Regions from separate parts of the Homo sapiens genome. Here all the other regions are linked to region 1. Evidence: promoter capture Hi-C in 16 types of primary human blood cells and fetal thymus (Javierre and others, 2016). All regions are on one chromosome and are shown on one strand. The core of a region is centred on a gene start or on the middle of the fragment in contact, and the rest is flanking DNA. Distances in the headings are between cores, read along the strand shown. Region 1 holds the start of NLE1 (notchless homolog 1). Region 2 has its middle 36 kb from the start of CCL1. Region 3 has its middle 87 kb from the start of CCL1. Region 4 has its middle 51 kb from the start of TMEM132E-DT. Region 5 overlaps AP2B1 (adaptor related protein complex 2 subunit beta 1).

Region 1 (2,904 bases), core at 106-2,605:
CCTGGCTGCATCGTGGAGAATGGGTAGAAAGAGGCAGGAATGGAAATGGGGGGGCTCATCGGGAGGCTGTTGTAGCGGTCCAGGCAGGTGATGATGGTGACTCTGACCAGAGTGAGGCAGTGGAGATGGGGAGAGCAGATTCAAGCTGTGTTCATGAGGATGACTTGGCAGAGCTTGAGACTGCCTGAGCAGTGGAGGGAGAGAGAGGAGAGTTGGCAAGGGAGATCCTTCGTTTCAGGCAAAAGAGCTCAAGTTCATTGCTGTCTGCTTCAGTTCCTCAGTAATATGGGGAGAAAAGGGTTGTAAGAATTAAATGAGTTATGTGGGAAAGCACTTAGAACAATTCCTGACTTGTTGATGTCATTATCACTATTATTGCTTTACAGCATTGATGATTGTAGAAATGATTTGCTTTTGTACTCGAGTATTATTGAGTTGATCCATTTTATTTATTTATTTATTTATTTATTTATTTATTTATTTATTTATTTATTGAGACAGAGTCTTGCTCTGTCATCCAGGCTGGAGTGCAGTGGTGAGAGCTCGGCTCACTGCAACCTCTGCCTCCCAGGTTCAAGAGAATCTACCACCTCAGCCTCTCCAGTAGCTATGACCACAGGCGCATGCCACCACGGCTGGTTAATTTTTTTGTATTTTTAGTAGAGACCTGGTTTCACCATGTTGGCCAGGCTGGTCTCGAACTCCTGGACTCAAGTGATCTGCTCGCCTGGGCCTTCCAAAGCGCTGGGATTACAGGTGTCAGCCACCACGCCCAGCCTTGACTTGATCCATTTTTAAAAGGATACTAATTTCTAGGCTAGGCGTGGTGGCTCACACCTGTAATCCCAGCACTTTGGGACACTGAGGCTGGGGAGTGGGGGACTTGCTGCTTGAGTTCAGGAGTTTGAGACCAGCCTGGGCAACATAGTGAGACCTCGTCTCTACAAAAAATGAGAAAAAAATAACCGGGCAGGGTGTCATGTGCCTGTAGTCCAGGCTACTCTGAGGCTGAGGTGGGAGGATCGCTGTGCCAGAAAGTTCGAGACTGCAGTGAGCCGTGGTGGCACCACTGCCCTCCAGTCTGGGCGACGGAGTGAAACTCTGTCTCAAAATGAAATTAAATTAAAATGGGGCAAGAATCCCTGTTGTGAAGAGTCAAAAGTTTACTGTGTCCTCTAAGACCCTGGCGAAAAATAAATGTGAAGGCTGTTGAGGGGCGGGAGGAGCACCAGGTAAGCCCATTTCTAATCCCTGAGGCCGTGCGCAGCGGGACGCTTCTCCTCCCCAACAGCAGAGGGCGATGTGGCCGGCGGCGACCCCGCCCGACCACGGAGACGGCGCTCTGTCTGCCGGGCTCTTTCTCCTCCACGTGGGGACGCAGGATGGCGGCAGCAGTGCCGGTGGGTGTGCGTGGATGGGGGCGGGGGGCGTCGCCGCGGGGCGCTAGGGCCCGGGTCCCTGAGGCCTGAGAGAGGCGAAGTGGGGCCCTTCTGGGCGGGCGACCAGACTGACTCCCGCCCCACTTGCTCGCGCAGGACGAGGCGGTGGCGCGCGATGTGCAGCGGTTGCTAGTGCAGTTCCAGGATGAGGGCGGGCAGCTGCTGGGTTCCCCGTTCGACGTGCCCGTGGACATCACCCCGGACAGGCTGCAGCTCGTGTGCAACGCGCTACTGGCCCAGGTAAGTGGCTGGCCAGGGCGGCCTCGCATCTCCACCCCCGGGCGGATGCGGTGGGGGAATCATATTACCGAGGGTCTGCGGTTCATGGTCCCCCGCTAACGGACTGTGGTGACCCACCTGGCGTGAGCTCCCACCTATGTCAGAGATGGAATCAGTGGCATAGCGCTTTACACGCCAACCAAAGGGGTCCACCTGCGGAGAGGGGCCTAGCTTTGAACGCACCGGATGCTGTATTTCATTGATTCTTTGTCACAGTCCCCCAGTCTGGGACACGTTAATATCCCCATTTTACAGCGTGGCCCGGAGGGACTCAGTATTTTGCACGATGCTATGTAGTAGGTAGCAGATTTGGAATTGGAACCCAAAACTATCCGAATACCCATGCTTTTATTTATTTATTTATTTACCTTTTTTTTTTTTTTTTTTGAGACGGAGTCTCACTTTGTCGCCAGGCTGGCAAGCTGGAGTGTAGTGGCGTGATCTCTGCTCACTGCAATCTCTGCCTCCCAGGTTCAAGCGATTCTCCTGCCTCAGCCTCCCGAGTAGCTGGGACTACAGGCGCGCGCCACCACACCCAGCTAATTTTTGTATTTTTAGTGGGGACTGGGTTTCACCACGTTGGCCAGGATGGTCTCGATCTCTTGACCTCGTGATCCTCCCGCCTTGGCCTCCAAAGTGCTGGGGATTACTGGCGTGAGCCACCGCACCCGGCCTTTGCTTTTAACCTTTAAGCCAGTGTGTTTACTGAAGAGCTGCCCTGGGGACAGGGGAGGTCCTTAAAATTGCAGTTCCTGGACCCCATCCCAGCCTTACTAAACCAAACTCTGGGATGAAGCAGAAAGTCTACATTTTTTAACAGGCGTTTTGGGAGCTTTTTACACAAATATAGTGTAGTGTGGTAGTTTGGGAAACACTGCATAATGCTATATGCTAATCCTATCTTGGACGTAAAGAACCTGAATTAATCATTGGCAATAGGACATTGAACTAATTACTTAGTTGTTCTGAGCCTCTGCTTTTGAAAACTGTCAGTGGGAATATTAGTATCTACTTCCCACGGTTGTTATGAGATGCAGATAAAGAATTTCAGGCCGGGTGCAGTGGCTTATGCCTGTAATCCCAGTACTTTGGGAGGCTGAGGTGGGCAGATCACTAGAGGTCAGGAGTTCGAGACCAGCTTAGCCAATATGGCGAAAACAGTCTCTACTGAAAATACAAAAATTAG
Region 2 (2,904 bases), core at 299-2,798, 740 kb after region 1:
GTGCAGGGTTCGACTGGGGGAGGGCAGAGGAAGAAGCTGCTGTTCTGGTAAGAGTGGGCTGCTTTGCAAAGAGACAGTTAGGAGGTGTTGAGGCCAATTGAGAAAAGCTCCAAACTCACTGACTTTGTATCTGATTGTGCCTGACACTGGTGCCTATCAGAGTGTGGTGAGGTGGAAGCCACACCCACGAGCTGTGTGATGCCTGGCAAGTCACTTCACATCTCCGAGCCTCACTTCCTCATCTGCAAATGGGGATAATGCTAAGTACTTTGAAGGGTTAATATGGAAATTCCTATAGGAAACTTGCTGTAAAGTTCTAGGCACATCGTAGGTCCTCTCTCCCATCAATCCTTTCTGGGTCTTTGATTGGAAACAGCTTCCCATTCCAGTGATGCTTATGAATCGCTTGTCCTTCTGCAAGCTTCTATGGGTGTGGATTTGTGTGTAGGTGACTTTGTGTATTTTTATATAGTTAGAATACATCAATATAAGACCATATATGTTTCAGATTAACTTCCTGCAAAAGAAAAATAAATTAGATTTGCATTGGTGTGAGTTTTTTAAAACATAAATGTACAACATAGTTCTATTCCTCAATATTTTGCATTTCTTTTGAAAGGACTATAACTTCAAGGAAAGTCTCAAAAAAGTTACCCCCATTCCCTGCATGTTAGCACACTTCCCTTGTAATTTTCTCTCTGTGTCTACACAGATAGCTGTATTTTTCCAGAACTGAATCATAGTCTACCCACTGTTTTGTGCTGTGTTTTTTGCATTTAACTGTTTCACAAGTATGTGTGTGAGTGTGTTTAATGCCTTATGTGTACAGATAAGTTTTGAGAGTTTCATAATATTCCGTTGCATTGGTGTTTAATTAGTTAAGGAAGCATTCCCTAATGTTTAATATTTTAGCCTTTGCTTTTGATTCCTTCTGGATAAGTTTAGATCTTGGAACAGAATCCTTTCTCTGGTAATACCTGTGTCCTTTCTGGGTGCTTAGAGAAATCTCTTTTCCAAAGCAGGACATACTCTCTCATTTTGAGCTCTCTGTTAAAAATTAGGATTTGATCTCAGAACTCACCCTGTTTCTTCCTTTCTAGACCATGTAGGTGGACTCTATTTAAGAAGCAAATGTGTAACAATTCCAATTGGTTGCTACTTAAACAAGAAGAGAGGAGATTTATTACATTTTACCAGAAAGGCTGAATGTTAAAGGCACAGGTACACAGCTGGAAATAATTAAAATAACAACCAATGTTTACTGAGTACCACATAACTATCAGGAGCTATTCTAAATTCATTGCATCCTCACAACAATCCAATGAGTTAGGTACAATTTTTAGCCCTGTTTTGCAGAAGAGGAAGTTGAGGTCAGAGAAGTTAAATGATTTGGTCAAGTTCATGCAGTTAGGAAGTGACTTAAATCTAGATGGTCTGACTCCAGAGCTTAGGTCTAGGTTAAAATCTGTCATGCTATTTGTAAATTGGGTCTCCTTTAAGAAGCCATGTGACTGCTCCGAGCCTCAGCTTCTGACTTGTGACGTGGTAGTGACAAGTCCTATCTCAAAGGACAGAGGTGAGATTAAGCAAGATGGTGTACAGAGAAGCCCACATGGTACTTGCCATGAGGTATTTGCTCAGGAACAGTTCCAGTCCCCTTTTCTCCCATTGTCACAGGGTTGGGATCCTGGTCCCCAACCCAGCCTGGCCTCTGGGCCCAGAAACATAACTATTTTCTATTGAAATGTTTGTGCTCCTCAATTGTCCTGTTGTTTTGACTTGTGAGCTCATTTTTCCCTGAGAGTATTGGTTACTCCTTTTGGCAGTGTTGGTGGTGAGATGCCAGATTCTATCTACTTCAATTCCAGTGAACTCAGGAAGTAGGGAGAGGTGAGCCTTAAGGTGCGGAACCCCTGGCATGAGAAAACACTTACCAAGACACCTCTCAGCTCAATCTTAACCCTTTGCCACCCATAGAGAGGATCCACTCTTTAGACAGTAATTTTACAGCCCCAGAAGTTCAGATAGGACGGGAGAGGAAGTAACGGCCCAAGTCAGTCACTCTGCCTGCTTTGCTCAGCCTCCCTTTAGCACAGGACTTCTGTACAGCTCTGATTTTACTCCTGACAATAATGAGGGCATAAGATTTAGTCTCCACAGGTTTTTCCCAAGGCTGTGACTGGGGAGAAGAAAGAACAGAATTCCTAATATTTCCCCCTCTCTTTTACACTTCTGCTGCTGTGCTGGGATACGTCCTGCCCAGGCCACACCATCACCTTCCGCCCTACCGTCCAATTCAAAATAGGACCACACCCCCATGGTTCCTCCTGGTTTTCAGTTTTCCCTTCCTTTGTGTTCCTCTGGAGTTGATCTTGGGGGGCAGGTTAAGCATCCGTGCTTGTTATGAATCTTGACTGGAAATGGAACCTGAAAAGCAACCTCTATTTTCCATCTCTTTAGCATCTCATGTAACACATTCTATGGGGACTCAACCTGTCAAAGACACTCAGTCATATGCACAAACGTGAACACCAGGCTACTTCTCCGGCATTGCCAGGGCTGGGGCAGAGGTGTGGCAGGAGGAACTGGTGATCCTGGTCTCTGTACTCGTTGGTCACAAACTCCTGCTGAGATCACCAGAGCTGCCTATGATTTCTGATCTTTCTGAAGCTTTGATTTCCAGGTTTCTTTTAGATACCACATGACGCCCCAGGATTCTTCTGATACCTTTCCTACTTTCTTAAGACACTCATTCATTCATTCACCACTTATTTATGGTGCATCGACTATTTGCTAAACACTGTGCTAAGTGAAAACTTGAATCGGCTTCTGTTTCTGTTACTCATAACCCAAAGTATCTTAGCTAAGACACCAGGTATTTTTATGTTTAGTTTACAGATATGA
Region 3 (2,904 bases), core at 204-2,703, 690 kb after region 1:
CATTTCTCCATCCATCGCTGTCCGTGGGTTTTGCCCATGTTTGGCATAGATCTTTTCCATGTTTTGCAAAAATATTATCCTTGGGGTAGAGACAGAGAGTGGGGGTCTTCATGCATTTACATCACCTTCTTATGGCTGAGATCTAGTTAAATTGAATGTATATTCTGTGAGTTTGATAATGTGCCCAGTGTTGTGCATGGTATTGTGGAAGGCAGAGAAAGATGATACCTGCTTTTCAGAAGTGCCCACCTGAAAATAAGCAGAGAAGGAGCAGGAACAAGGCTAGCAGGGTGGGCTCATGGTCTACTGTGTGTTCTTGGCAAGACCTACCTTGAGGCTTAAGGGTTGGGAGAATGTCACTATAGGTTGGGGGCAAGCAAAAATGCTTTGTAGAAGAGGTGGGATGTCACCTGTTCTGTAAAGGCTAAGCTTAGGAGAGGAAGGGAGAAGACCATTCCAGGACACAGTTGGTGCTTGACAAATATTTATTAAATGGAAGCATGAATATACAATTATTTTCTTCCTGGATATTTTAAAGTATCTGTCTTTTTAAGTGATTGTTTAAAATATTAAAAACAGACTATTTTAACACTATCTGTAATAGCACCAAACTGGAAACTACCCAAATGTCCATCAATAGTAGAATGGATAAGCAAATCATAATATAATTATACAATAGAATAATATCTAGCAATTAGAATGGCCACTCTACAATGACACACAACCTTATGGAAGCATGATGTTGTACAAAAGGAGGTATACACAAAGGAGGAGCAGTTATAAGATTTTGTTTCTATGAAGTGCAAAAAGAGACAGAGCTAATCTATGGTGCTTGAGATCAGTATGGTGGATTTAGGCAGTAGTGATGGGAAGGGAGTCCAAGGGCAGCTTCGGGAAGGCTCTATTTCTTGATCTACATATTATGTACACATTGGTTCAGTTTTTGAAAAATGTATGGGCTGTGCACTTATGATAAGTTCATTTTTCTGTATGTTGTATTTCAATAAAAAGTAAACCAACAAACAAAAACAGGCTATGTTCTCAGCTTGACTTCCTAGACCCCATGTTCTCTTGCCTTCTCTCATCGATACCAGATGGCATGACCTGTGAAGATATTTTTTAAAGAATGGCAGGCTTTGCTCAAGGAGTAGCCTCTCCTAAGACCAGAAGAGAAAAGGCAGATAATCTTTTCCCCCATTTTAATGATTGGGAAACTGAGGCTTGTAGATATGAAATAAAGCCCTTTTTTCATATAGTGAGTCACTGTAAGAAAGAACTTTTGTCTTCTGGGAGCCTCCATCCTGTGGCCCAGCTAATAGGTACCTGTTCAGCCAGATGCACCTCAAGAGACAAAGACTGTTACAGGAAGTCAGAGTGATGGGTGGGAATACCTGGAGGTGTTCAGTGGGCTTTGCTATCCCCCACTTTCATGGTCATGTCCACATAAAGTAGCACCTGGAGGGTTCTCAGCCTGCCATCTGCTTTTGTGAGATTTGAGTGAGTCAGTTATTGTCCCTGGACCTGTGGCCCCAACTATAAAATTAGGGATTGAACTCAATAACAATAAGGCATAAGTTTCCTCCCAGTTCTAATATTTCAGGTATAAATCTGAACCAGTGCCATCCATATTAGATTAGGCAGAGTCTCTGCTATTCTGTACCCTTAGAGGGCTGTGCGGGGTCAGGATTAAAGAAATAAATCTGAAATCTGTATGATATTTTAAAGCATTTCTTCATTCATTTGTTCACTCATTCACTCCAGAACCCTTCATTGAGCATCTGCTGTATGCTAGGTCCTTAAATAACTTACATTCTGGGGAGACAGACACAGTAATTAGTTGTAAAAGTGTATCAGTGTCATACATACAGTTACATATCAAATGCTGTGGACATACAGAAGACTTTATTGGTGCTTTGGGGGTGAGGTTAGGCCACAGAAGGCTTCCTAGAGGAGGCGATATTTGAGCTGGATCTGGAGGAAGGAAGAGATCAGACTGGGTAAATTGAGGTAGGAGTCAGTCACATCCTTGTTAGAGAGAAGAACGTATCTAGAGGCAGAGGAGCTGGAAAGGCATTTCTGTGGGTTCAAACCTGAACACGGAGAGTGAGTGGCAACAGCTGAGGCTGAAGCCTTGAACACCATGATTTTGTGTAGGGTGTAGGATTTGGCAGTGGGGGCCACATTCAGGATGAGTGTGAGACTAGAGTGAGGTGCAGGACCTGTGAGGGACCCTTCTCCTCGCTTTTCTACCACAGTTCGGTGAGACTTGGGTGCACATCCCCCGCCCTCTTAGATTGTCCAGTCAATAAGCTCTATAAGGAGCCAAAGCTAAAAAGCAAGATCAATGTAGTTGCCATCGATCCTGCCTCAGCGGCTGATTAGTACCAGGGACTTGGCTGATCCTGAGAGCTCATTGCTAATGCACCATGAAACTCAGATTAAACTAGTAGCGCCCAGCAGCCCTGGGGAAAGCTTCTGCCCTCTCCAGATGCATGGGGGTAGTGGAAGAGGTCCTGACCCCAACTTGCTGGAGCCTTTTGCTACCCAGATGAACAACGTAAGTCCCCTAAGCAACCAGCAGACATCTGATCATGGCATTTCTTTGCTTAACTCCTCTCCATGTACCCCATTGCCTCTGGGGTCTGTGCAAACTCCCTAATTGGGCAAACCTGCCCTCTGCAATCTGGCCCCTGACTGCCTCTTCCAGCCTCAAACATGTTGCCTTCCCCTTACCTTCTGAGTCAGTCCAGCAGAACTGCCTTCAGGGCCTCCAACTTTGCCATCACATTGCATGGAGTCACTTGTCATTTCTTCCAGTAGCCTTCCCTAACCCTCCTTCCACCACCACCACTAAAATCTGACTTAGGCACCTTTCCAAGGTCTCCCTGTACTTTCCTGAGCAGA
Region 4 (2,904 bases), core at 110-2,609, 610 kb after region 1:
AGGGAGATTTGAGTTATTCATCTAACTCTGGCTTCTCCTTGTTCTATAATGTTGGCCAAATGACTTTGATCTCCAGGCCAGGCTGACCACCCTTTCACCTTCAAACCAGAGAGAACAATGCCCAGAGCCTTCTCAAAAGCAGACAAGGAGAAGGATAGTAAGTACACAAGTCTGCAAGGTCCTTCAGAGCTAAGATGTCCTATTTTCAATGCAATAGAATCATTTAACTGATAAACACGGAGGCAATGTCAAGATGGCAATAAATTGCCTCGCTATCAGGCAAGGCCTTTGTGTAACGTTCAAAAGAAACTAATTAAAGAAATTTTTCTTTAAAGTATATTTGACCCAGACATTTCTACATCGGCCCAGGATGCCAATCCAGTTTGAAAACTTGGTGTAAAGCTTGCATTATTAATGCACACTTGAAAAATGATATTGCATATTTGCCTTAGAACATTTTGGGAATGGGGGAGGATTAAATGTATCTCTTGAGGATTTGATCAGGGAAGGAAGTGGAGGGTGGGGTGATGCCAGAGAAGGCCAGAGAAGGTGTGCATCCTTGTAAAACATCTATCATAAAACTTGGGTCTTTATCGGAACTCCAGCGTTCAGATGACTGAGACAAATTTTAAAGAGAATTTTTTCACATCTAATACATAAAACATGATCTCCACCATCTCTCTCTCTTTAAACAGCTTTGTTAAATAGTCAGTTGAACGACATCTCCCTTGCTGCCATGAATCCATTAGGGAATCATATTTACATAGGGGATTTTACTTGACAATCTCAAATCACTTGGAAAACATCAACCTTCTCGGCCTCTCAGCACCCTTTGGGGAGCTGTATGCATACTCCTGGTTTATTTCTCGCACCCTCGTGTGGTGACAGTGGCTCCCAGAAAAGTGGACTTGGCAGAACCAGTGCCCCAACTAGTGCTTTCCAGGATACCTCTCTCAGGGCTGCCCCCTGACTCCCACTTGCTGGATTGCTTGGACCCATGGAGATGGGCATGGGAATGGGGCTGGTGCAGCTCCTGCCATCCTCATCCTCATCACTCAAATGTACACTGAGCAGGCATGGAGACTCCAACAAGGAAAGAAGCTGGCATCTCAACAATGACGGCAACAGTAAGAGTAGCTCATGTGTATTGCTTAATATGTGACCGGCAGCATGTTAAACACTTGGTGTGGGGTTGCCCAGTAAATCCTGGTGAGCCTGCGAGGTGCTTCTAGTGTTACCTTTACAGCATCGATGAAGAAGTTGAGGCCTAGAGAGCTGAAATGATGGGCTCAATTCCCACTCTTAGGAAGACAGTCTCAAGCCCTCATTTGTCTGTTTCAGTTCACACTCATCTACACTATCATGATAGACCAAAGGGCATTATATGTACAGAAGGAGTTTCAGGAAGGGAGAAAATGGAACTTGAAGCGCTTTGTCATATATGTATTCAATGTGTGCATTCAGCAAATGCCTCCAGCTTTGGCTCCCTTCCATTCCATCCTAAAAGGCTGAGATAATTTTCTTCTTTTCACTTAAAATAGCCTCTATCTAGATATGTGAAGCAGCTAGCACGGTGGCTTGCACACAGTATATGGTCAATGACGTGACTTCCCTTTTCCATTTGTAGTCCATGCACACATGCTGACACTCCCTAATTCCATGAATCGATATATTTCTTAAAACGATGCTCAGAGGAGGATTCTGAGAACACAGATGGGACAGGACTATGGCCGTGGTCACTTTAAACGTGGTTTGCCACGTCAGCAGAAGCCATTGAAAGCAGAGGTAAGGTTTCAAGGAAGGAGAGGGGCCTGTGAGGCAGGTGGAAATGGACAGAGTGGTGGATGGGCAGCAGAGTCGAGCAAGGTGAGGACGGATTTGATATTCTGCTGTGTGAAAGCAGGCAGGGCTGATGCTGAGGAAGAAAATCACCGATAGCCTAAGGGCCATCCTGTGTAGCTGTGCAGGTTGTGCACTGCAGAACTTTAGGGGGCGCTGTTCTTACCACCCGGGGAAGGGAGGCCCTAAGCGGACCCTGCACAGTCAGCAGGGGCCTAGGGAAGGACCTTGCCTGCAACATTTACTGAGTACTCATAAGAGTGGAAGCATGTGTGGTGGGGAAAGGGTTTTTAAGTTGGGCCTTTTAGTTAGAATTTTGACAGATGGAAAACAGGGAGGGGCAAAGCCCAGGTGGCTGACTCCTATTCGTCCTTTAAGGCTGAACTCATGCCTCCCCTGTGCTGGGACCCGTTCTGTGGCAGCAGCTGCGCCGCCCTTTTCCTCCTACAGCACCGGACCTACCTCACCCTAAGCTTCACCACCCCTCCCTGAAAGGGTTCATTCCCAAGTTCGTGGAGTCTCATGGTCCCCCTCCCAACCCCCCCGAAACCCACCATCCCGCCTCCACTACCCTGTAAGCTCCTAGAAAGCAGGAACTATGTTTTTCACTCCAGTAGGCAGGGATTAGCAGTGGTGCTAGCACATAGTAGGTCCTGGCACGCAGTAGGAGTTGAATGAACCAAGTAACCAATGTATAAGTACAGGAAGCTGGTGTGGGGGCCAGTCATGCGGGCAGGATGGCCAGTGTACAGCCAGGAGATGCCAAGGTCCCCAGAAGGGGCAGTGGACCGGGATGAGAACAGGCAGAGCTCAGGGACCTCCCGGCTGTGGGCAGCAGGGAGGGTGGAGAGAAACCCAAGGAATGTCAGCCACCCCACGTGGAGCTGGGGGCTATGCTCAGGAATCTAACACGCAGCTCAGAGCCAGGCGACAGGCTCCAGCCCTGTGTCTCTGAGCCTTGTTTGAAGGCTGATGATTTTTTAACGGTGTTTGTCTCCCTGAGGGTCGGAATTCAGGAAATGCCCCTCTCTAGTAGAAAAGAGAAGCGGCTGGGAGACAAATATC
Region 5 (2,904 bases), core at 235-2,734, 530 kb before region 1:
AACACAACTAATGGAGCTGTTTAAAAAGCAAAATCTACTTTTTGCTACAGTTCCACAGTTGTTTCTTCCCTAGTTCTTACTGTGCATCTAAAACACTTCCTTGAATCATCAAATGCCTTGTCTGTTCTAAGCACATTCTCCTTTATAGTCATTTAGTGGTAGAAAGTTGCAGGTCGTTGAGCTGTAAAAATTATTTTGCATCTTTAAGATTGGGGAAAGAGGATTTATCTTCTCAATGAACAGAGAGTAGTACATAAAATGGCATTCTCAAAAATCTAAAAATTAATCTTAAATATTGAAAAATAGTGACGACTACAACAAAGTTCTGTTTAAACCATGAAAGAAAATAACCCTGGTAGGTGCTTCATAACTGGCATTAGCAAGCATGCTCTGTTGTAAACTATAAGCATTCCAAACCAGAGCTAACATTTCCAGAATCTGATTCCTGAAGACTACTTAATGGTTGCACAGGGGATGAAAATCACATACTTAAATAAATAAAAAGATCATCCTTGGCTGGGCGTGGTGGCTCATGCCTGTAATCCCAGCACTTTGGGAGGCCAAGGTGAGCGGATCATGAGGTCAGGAGTTTGAGACCACCCTGGCCAACATGGTGAAATCCTGTCTCTACTAAAAATACAAAAATTAGCAGGCTGTGGTGGCAGGCGCCTGTAATCCCAGCTACTCGGGAGACTGAGGCAGGAGCATCCCTTGAACCCAAGAGACGGAGGTTGCGGTGAGCTGAGATCATGCCATTGCACTTCATCCTCGGCAACAAGAGCAAGACTCCATCTCGGAAAAAAAAAAAAAAAAGGCATCCCCAAACCAAGAATTTGAGTAACTAGAAAAGTGTGAAGGGAATAGAAAAGATACTACACATCTGCTTTCTCCCTAGTTCTATCATAGCACACATCTGCAGCATGACGTCTGAAATTCCTTTTATTCAAACAAACATTTACATAACATTTACTGGATGCAAGGCATTACAAGGGATATAAAGATGCCTGGCAATGAGGGGACTACATAGATAAGAATGAAGCTTTGCAAACTAGCTGGAGAAATAAAACACAAATGCAAAACCATACAGAATATACTAAAGCAAAAAAGCGAAGTTCTGAAGGGAAGAACCTCCCTCTGGCTGAAAGAATGAAGAGAAACTTCAAAAAGGTGGTAGGGTGGAATTATAAAAAGCAAAAATGGGGGAAGGCCATTTCTCAAATAGCATGAACAAAGGTGAAGAAAGCATGGAAGAATGAAAAGGCCAGTTAGACTGGAACACAGGGTTGATATGTGTTTTAAAAAAATACTCATACAAAATAAGTTTGCAAAGGCTGTCTTTTAATTTTTTAATTTCCCCTTCATAAAAACCTGGAGGTTTCTTAGACTAAGCTTTCTAAGAATACTAATAACTATGTCAATTATGTTTCAGTAGTATGGTTTCAACCTTGGATACACAATGGAATCAACCATCTGTGTGTGGGGGTTGCAGAGAGTAGCGCTTTAAAAAGTACTCGCCCCCAGAGATGGTAATTTAATTGTTCTGGGGTGTAGCCTGGGCATCAGAATTTTGAAAAGCTTCCCCAGTTGATTCTAATGTACAGCCAAGGTTGAAAACACTGCCGTTAGAGAATCAGTTATTTAGAGTCAGACAAGACTTCATCTGCTCAGAAATGACTTTGGAACTTGTGAATAAAAAGGAAGTCAGGATTTGAGCAGAGAGGCCGGGCGTGGTGGCTCACACCTGTAATCCCAGCACTTTGGGAAGCCGAGGCCGGTTGATCACCTGAGGTCAGGAGTTCAAGACCAGCCTGACCAATATGGTGAAACCCGTCTCTACTAAAAATACAAAAATTAGCTGGGCCTGGTGACGGGAACCTGTAGTCCCAGCTACTCAGAAGGCTGATACAGGAGAATTGCTTAAACCTGGGAGGCAGAGGTTGCAGTGAGCCGAGATCATGCCATTGCACTACAGCCTGGGCAACAGACCAAGACTCCGTCTCAAAAAAAAAAAAAAAAAAAAAATTTGAGCAGCGAGGAAAACCCATGGAAAGGATCCTACGAAAAATGTTTCATTTGTCCTGATACTCTGAGGTGGTTTTCGACTTTCTGATGGGCTTACCCCCTCTCACCGCAACTTATTCTCCCCTCTTCTGGCTAGGCTTATAATCCAAGATTCAAAGAGATAGAATTCTTTATGAACCTGCTTGGCACAGAACAGCAAGAAAGAAAAACACATTGGAAAGGAAACAGCAGTTTTGCTAAATTCAATAAAAGGCATTGAGAAAAGAGATTCATGGGTAGTGTTTAGACCAAAGGAAAGAAAGCACATTCATAGCCCTTATTTTCTTAGATTTCATTCTTTTTATCGTTGAATGATATATGAATATTATCTTAGCTGGAAAGGATCTGAAAGTACTGTCCCCCAGTGCTTGTCAATTTTATTCAAAATCATGAAGAACTGAAAAGCAATCTTGACATTCCTCTGTTTATGTTCAGTATATCAGATACAACTCAGCTAGAAACATGAACTCTGATCTGACACAAAGACAGGGTCCAAAAGATATCAGAGACACAGCCAGGGATACAAAGGTTCACCTAATTGTACTATGTTCAGAGAGCAAAGGGAAAGGACAATTTCAATACTATACATGTTTTCTAACTAGCAAGACTACAGCTTATGCGGACTATTCAGCAACTTCCCTCTTAACTGAAAAATATTCTAATGGAGATTATCCTACTCTCTGAAACCATGGCAAGGTGACAGCATGATGATGGGTGTGAGTGACTAATAGGGAGATGTCAGCAGGAATGGAAGCGAATTACCCAGTGAGTGGCCTCTCCTATCTACAAGTGATAAACAGGAGGAAGGAGATACTCATCAAGAAAAAAGAAAGCTAGAAAGTG

The links. The method cuts DNA at HindIII sites, captures the fragments that hold promoters and counts their contacts. A CHiCAGO score of 5 or more calls a contact.
Region 2: a contact is called between a fragment that was not itself captured here and the fragment with the promoter of NLE1 in region 1, in 1 of 17 cell types (total B cells). The highest score is 5.2, in total B cells.
Region 3: a contact is called between a fragment that was not itself captured here and the fragment with the promoter of NLE1 in region 1, in 1 of 17 cell types (M2 macrophages). The highest score is 5.9, in M2 macrophages.
Region 4: a contact is called between a fragment that was not itself captured here and the fragment with the promoter of NLE1 in region 1, in 1 of 17 cell types (neutrophils). The highest score is 6.5, in neutrophils.
Region 5: a contact is called between a fragment that was not itself captured here and the fragment with the promoter of NLE1 in region 1, in 3 of 17 cell types (naive CD4 T cells, activated CD4 T cells and total CD8 T cells). The highest score is 5.6, in naive CD4 T cells.

Annotation. Positions count from the first base shown.
Region 1 is chr17:35,140,754-35,143,657 of GRCh38, reverse strand. NLE1 (notchless homolog 1) reads left to right here and starts at 1,355. Exons shown (of 13, transcript NM_018096.5): 1 at 1,355-1,400; 2 at 1,536-1,679. The coding sequence starts at 1,383. RefSeq lists an enhancer at 1,047-1,924. The HindIII fragment of the contact is 3,765 bases long and covers 1-2,904 here.
Region 2 is chr17:34,397,777-34,400,680 of GRCh38, reverse strand. No RefSeq gene overlaps it. Among named protein-coding and RNA genes, the nearest start is that of CCL1, 36 kb to the right of the region's middle. The HindIII fragment of the contact is 2,249 bases long and covers 424-2,672 here.
Region 3 is chr17:34,448,468-34,451,371 of GRCh38, reverse strand. No RefSeq gene overlaps it. Among named protein-coding and RNA genes, the nearest start is that of CCL1, 87 kb to the right of the region's middle. The HindIII fragment of the contact is 2,043 bases long and covers 432-2,474 here.
Region 4 is chr17:34,527,136-34,530,039 of GRCh38, reverse strand. No RefSeq gene overlaps it. Among named protein-coding and RNA genes, the nearest start is that of TMEM132E-DT, 51 kb to the left of the region's middle. The HindIII fragment of the contact is 1,910 bases long and covers 405-2,314 here.
Region 5 is chr17:35,667,052-35,669,955 of GRCh38, reverse strand. The region is part of intron 14 of AP2B1 (adaptor related protein complex 2 subunit beta 1); the gene reads right to left. Among named protein-coding and RNA genes, the nearest start is that of RASL10B, 63 kb to the left of the region's middle. The HindIII fragment of the contact is 186 bases long and covers 1,392-1,577 here.